Linked DNA regions of Homo sapiens: region 2 is linked to region 1. Evidence: promoter capture Hi-C in 16 types of primary human blood cells and fetal thymus (Javierre and others, 2016). All regions are on one chromosome and are shown on one strand. Each heading gives the region's core, a stretch centred on a gene start or on the middle of the fragment in contact. The rest is flanking DNA. Distances are from core to core; before and after follow the strand shown.

What was found. The method cuts DNA at HindIII sites, captures the fragments that hold promoters and counts their contacts. A CHiCAGO score of 5 or more calls a contact.
Region 2: a contact is called between a fragment that was not itself captured here and the fragment with the promoter of RPTOR in region 1, in 1 of 17 cell types (naive CD4 T cells). The highest score is 5.0, in naive CD4 T cells.

The regions. Positions count from the first base shown.
Region 1 is chr17:80,543,455-80,546,154 of GRCh38, forward strand. It overlaps RPTOR (regulatory associated protein of MTOR complex 1), which reads left to right and starts at 1,384. Exons shown (of 34, transcript NM_020761.3): 1 at 1,384-2,337. The coding sequence starts at 2,176. RefSeq lists enhancers at 1,078-1,904, 1,238-1,597, 1,878-1,977, 1,905-2,700. The HindIII fragment of the contact is 2,750 bases long and covers 1,071-2,700 here.
Region 2 is chr17:80,727,148-80,729,847 of GRCh38, forward strand. The region is part of intron 4 of RPTOR (regulatory associated protein of MTOR complex 1); the gene reads left to right. Among named protein-coding and RNA genes, the nearest start is that of RPTOR, 180 kb to the left of the region's middle. The HindIII fragment of the contact is 1,252 bases long and covers 745-1,996 here.

The DNA.
Region 1 (2,700 bases), core at 134-2,633:
GCGTGCACCACCACGCCTGGCCTCGTTTTATTCTTATTTATTTATTTATTTATTTATTTATTTTTGAGATGGAATCTCACTCTGTCACCCAGGCTGGAATGCAGTGGTGTAATCTCGGCTCACTGCAACCTCTGCCTCCCAGGTTCCAGCTCTTCTCCTGCCTCAGCCTCCCGAGCAGCTGAGACTACAGACGCACGCCACCACGCCCAGCTAATTTTTGTATTTTTATTAGAGACGGCGTTTCACCATGTTGGCCAGGCTGGTCTCGAACTCCTGAACTCGTGATCCACCCTCCTCGGCTTCCCAAAGGGCTAGGATTATAGGCGTGAGCCACGGTGCCCTGCCTACATTTGGTTTTATAGTCCACCTTACACAGTTCTCTATACATTGTAAATGAGCCAAATTTCCTGAATTGAAAAAGAGAGTCACACAAGAGGCTTGCCTCCACGCACAGACATGTAGTTTTAGATGTCTGCACGTGAAGCTATATCAAAATAAGAATAAACTACTGCTACCAAGAAGTGGGAAAAAAATTTAAAAAGGATAAACTGCTCAGAAAACGAAACAGATTAAACAAAAAATTGTATTAGATGAAATTTTTTTTCATCGAATCTTGCTCCAGACTCTTCTTCTGTTGCTTCAGACCCTTCTTCATCTGAAGAGTCTTGCTCTGTCTCCCAGGCTGGAGTGCAGTGGCACGATCTTGGCCCACTGCAACCTCCGCCTCCCGGGTTCAAGCAATTCTCCTGCCTCAGCCTCCTGAGTAGCTGGGATTACAGGCGCGCACCACCACGCCCAGCTAATTTGTGTATTTTTAGTAGGGACGGGGTTTCACCATGTTGGCCAGGCTGGTCTCGATCTCTTGACCTCGTGATCTGCCCGCTTCGGCCTCCCAAAGTGCTGGGATTACAGGCGTGAGCCACGGCGCCCGGCCTTTCACTTGGTTCTCTATGAAAAAATTAAAGAGAAAATCTGATTGACACTGTGGAGGACACTACACTCCAAAAAAAAAAGTACTATATTTTCTAATATTATCAGTGCTTTTTAATATTTTCTAATATTATCAGTGAAGCTTTTGCCGCTTTTTCAAAATCTGGAAGAAACAAGGCGGTTGATTCCTTTAATTTCAGGAGCATGTAACTTCATTTATAATGACAATGTTTTTGAAAAAATAAATTAAACCGACAGTTTCATTTGTAGGATTGACTTTAATAACACGCCTCTACTGAACAAATGGCGATTAACTGGGGAAAACGGAATTATGGTAACCGAGGTAACGGGGTCGGGGACTCTTTCTCCTTCGCTGCATGCTGGGTGGCGGGGAGAGACCGCTCTGAGGAGGTTTGGTCTGTCGGCCACGCCGTAGGCCGCGGTGCATTCTGGGTCCTGGCAATATGGCGTCCTCCTTGATGGGCTGATGAGATGAGTTTCACTGTAGCTCCAAACCAGAGGGCAAAGCTCCCATGACCCAATAAGCCCACATTGTCCCTTTCCTCCGTGGTTCCGTGTCGCCCGTTTCTCAGGACTCGTTCTCAGGCAGGAGAGAGCCTCGGGGCTGAAGGCCAGGACCAGCCAGGCCGCGCGGACCTGAGGTTGAGGAACCGGGTGCAGGCGAGCACGATGGGCCGGTCGTGGCTCTGGTTGCAGCAGCTCAGACGAGTGCGGGACCCGCAGGGCTGAGAGTGGCTGGAGGAGACCCAGGGCCCTTTGAACCCGATCCCTTGGCCGGAGACCTCAGCCCAGTCGGCCCAGTGGGCGAACCGGCACCAAGAGCGGCCTGCCTGTCTTCGGAACTGCTGAGGCGGTGGAGGCCGAGAGCAGGGTCATCGTGAGGCCTGAAGTCTCTTACGCTTTTGGCAGCTCCCCTCGCAGCCCCTCTGGAAACGTACAGCCTCAGGAGCAGCCAGTGGCTTGGGACCTGGGGTGGTGTGTGTCTGCGGAGCTTCTTGGGCTGCCCCATTTCCTAGCGGCCCCCACCTCCCCACTTCCCGCTCAGAGTTAGAGATAAGGATCTCAGACTTTTGCCTGAGTAAGGGTCTCCGCACTCTTTATCCATTTGGTTTTCGATTTCCCGTTTTTGTTTCTTATTTCACCAATTCTGGTACACGCTAGTTTTTAAGGCTGGAGGTTCTCGAGCGCTTGCTGCCAAGGACTCCCCCACCCCCTCCCCCACTGATGGAGTCCGAAATGCTGCAATCGCCTCTTCTGGGCCTGGGGGAGGAAGATGAGGCTGATCTTACAGACTGGAACCTACCTTTGGCTTTTATGAAAAAGAGGCACTGTGAGAAAATTGAAGGCTCCAAATCCTTAGCTCAGAGCTGGAGGATGAAGGATCGGGTAAGTGGATTCTGAAGGCACCCCTTGAACTTGGTAGTTTCCCCAACAAAGAAAGTTTACAGCCCGAAAAGTGTCCTTGGGAAAGCGCCGACATTTCCCCCTAGCCACACGTTGTAAGTCAACTAGAAAGCAAAAGCCATTTCAGACTGCAGTTTTTGGTTGAAAATGGAAAATGCTGTTTTGGTTAGTCATTATTCACTGGGTAGTGTTAATTCAATTCCAACTAAGTTCTAATTCAGATAATAAAAGTTAAGCAAATTTGAAAATAGAGCATTGCGAGTATTTACATGCTCTTTGGCATACTACTTAGTTCTGTAAACACTTAGAGGAAGGACAACGTGCGATATAATCTTTATACCCACA
Region 2 (2,700 bases), core at 121-2,620, 180 kb after region 1:
CCTGCTCCGAGAACGTGAACTCTGCACCTCTGACCACGTCACGCCCCGAGAACGTGGACACTGCACCTCTGACCACATCATGCTCCGAGAACGTGGACGCTGCACCTCTGACCACATCATGCTCCGAGAACGTGGACGCTGCACCTCTGACCGCATCATGCTCCGAGAACGTGGACGCTGCACCTCTGATCATGTCACACTCCAAGATCATGGACATTGCACTTCTGATCATGTCATGCTCTGAGAACATGGACGCTGCACCTCTGATCATGTCACGCTTCAAGAACGTGAACACTGCACCTCTGACCACGTCACGCCCCGAGAACGTGGACGCTGCACCTCTGACCACATCATGCTCTGAGAACGTGGACGCTGCACCTCTGATCATGTCACACTCCAAGATCATGGACATTGCACTTCTGATCATGTCATGCTCCAAGAACGTGGACGCTGCACCTCTGACCATGTCGCGCTGGCCAGAATTTGGCTGCAGGACAGACTTCACTGGAAAGGAAACTGGGCCATGTGCTCAGCTACAACTGCTTTAGAAGAGAGAGAAAATCAGATATTAGCCTAGCAGTCTCTACCACACTGGCATTTAGATAATTTTCAGCTTTTTTTTTTACCAGTCAAAACATCTCATGTACAAATGCAAGTATTTCTATAGGATGGATATCTAGAAGTAGTCAGAAGGAATGTGCCTTTAAAATTTTTGTTAAGTACTTCCCAATTGCCTTCCATACAAGCTTCATTAATTTACATTCCCACCATTGATGGATGAGTGCCCTGCATCCTCCCACAATGGGGCATTATTCACATTTTATCCTGCTTTCCACTTTGCTGAATAAAAACAGAATGGATGAATGAATGGATGGGCGGATGGATGGATGGATGAATGGATGGATGGATCGATAGGTAGATAGATAGATTCTCATTGTAATTTGCATTTCTAATAAAGAGCATGAAACTTAGAATCATTTTTGATTCATTTTTCTTCTGTGAATTGCCTGTTTGTATGTTTTGCCTGTTTGTTTTCGTTTTGTCCCTTGTTGATCTGCAGCAGAAGTTTATATAGACACATCTAAAAAATTCTCTGTCATGTACTGTGTACCTCCTTTCTTCTAAAATTGCTAGTCATTGATATGTCTTTATTAGAATTATAGATTTTTTTATCTTACTGTATCAGTCAGTCTCAAGACTTATTAGGTTTTGTGACTTGCTTAATTAAGGCCTTTCATATGCCAAAATAAATGAAAATTTTCCTGTGCTTTTACATTTAGGTTTTCAGTCCACTCTGGGGTGTGTGTGTGTGTGTGTGTGTGTGTAATCTCAGATAGCAAAATACCAAATGGCTGGTTAGAGTTTCCAGCATCAGTTATTGAATTGTTAATTCCTTCTTTGCAGATTTAAAATGCTGTCCTCATTAGAGTTACGTATGTGGGTCTATTTCTGGACTCTCTCTTTTCTGTTGATTTGTTTGTCTCCCTCACTAATACCATCCTGTAATTACCATAGATTTATAGTATCTTTAATATCTGGCAGTGTGAGTCCCTATTCATTATTCTTTATTAATTTTTTTTTGCTCTTGTGCTTTTTTTTTTCTCTGTACTATATAATCATCTTGTTAAATTCCGTGAATGGAAAAAACCCAGAAGGTATTTTGATTAGGCTTGGACTGACTTTCTGGATTCATTAGGCAAGAATTGACATCTCTAGATCCTTCAGTGGGTTTATTTACAGAGAGCATTTCCAGGTGTTCTATTATAGAGCAGTGATTATAAACAGTCCACCAAACGCGGACAGTTTTAACAACATGTTTGGCAGAGCACAGGTAGAATGGGGTCCTGCCCACGATGATGTACGTGTCTCCACACACCCCCCACACATCTGCGTCGTTGGTATACTGTATCATCATGTCTGAGATATAACTTACGTCTGAGATGTAGCTGATGTCTGAAATGTAACTTTTGTCTGCTTCTTTGCTGTGCACGGACAAAGCTTCTGCAGGCTTCCTGCACGCCATACTTCCCCAGGCTTTGCTGGATCTGGCCTTCTGTCCCTTTCCTCTTGAGTTATAAACAATCCTGTAGGCAGTACCAGCGGCAGGATATGTGGCTTAGCTGCTAAGAAATAAACTCACTTTTACTGTGACTTTGATTTTTGCCAATTTCTGGGAATTTGATTTCTGCCACAGCTTCACTACTTACACTCTTGATGTCCAAGGAAAGGTAAATAATGAACGTGTTCTGTGGAGAAGAATTCCTTAAAAATGTTAGCTTTGCGTTCGGATTGTAAGTGTTTCTCAAGTGAGATGAGAACATTCTCCTCTGCATTTACCAGAATCACTAGTGTCTGTTCAGGCGCTGAACAGTATGGTGTGTTCTGAAAAATGTTTCACTCAGCAGATTAGTGTTACTAGGTTATTGTTCTGTGACTGAAATAAATTTATACAGCCAAACCCACTTATACCCCTTAAGTATGATCTTTCAAAAGTCATCTCAATGACAAAGTGCTTATGGACCTCTCTGAAATTAAAGGGACAGTGGCATGCAAATTTGAGGACCCGGCCAACTCTTAGAGCTCCCCTCCCTTGTAAATGATGTGTGTGTTGTGTTATATAAACCCAGAGATGTGACAGAGTTAAAGGACAAATGGAGACACGGAGTGAAGAGCACGTGTGTGAGACAGCTGTGGGTCCAT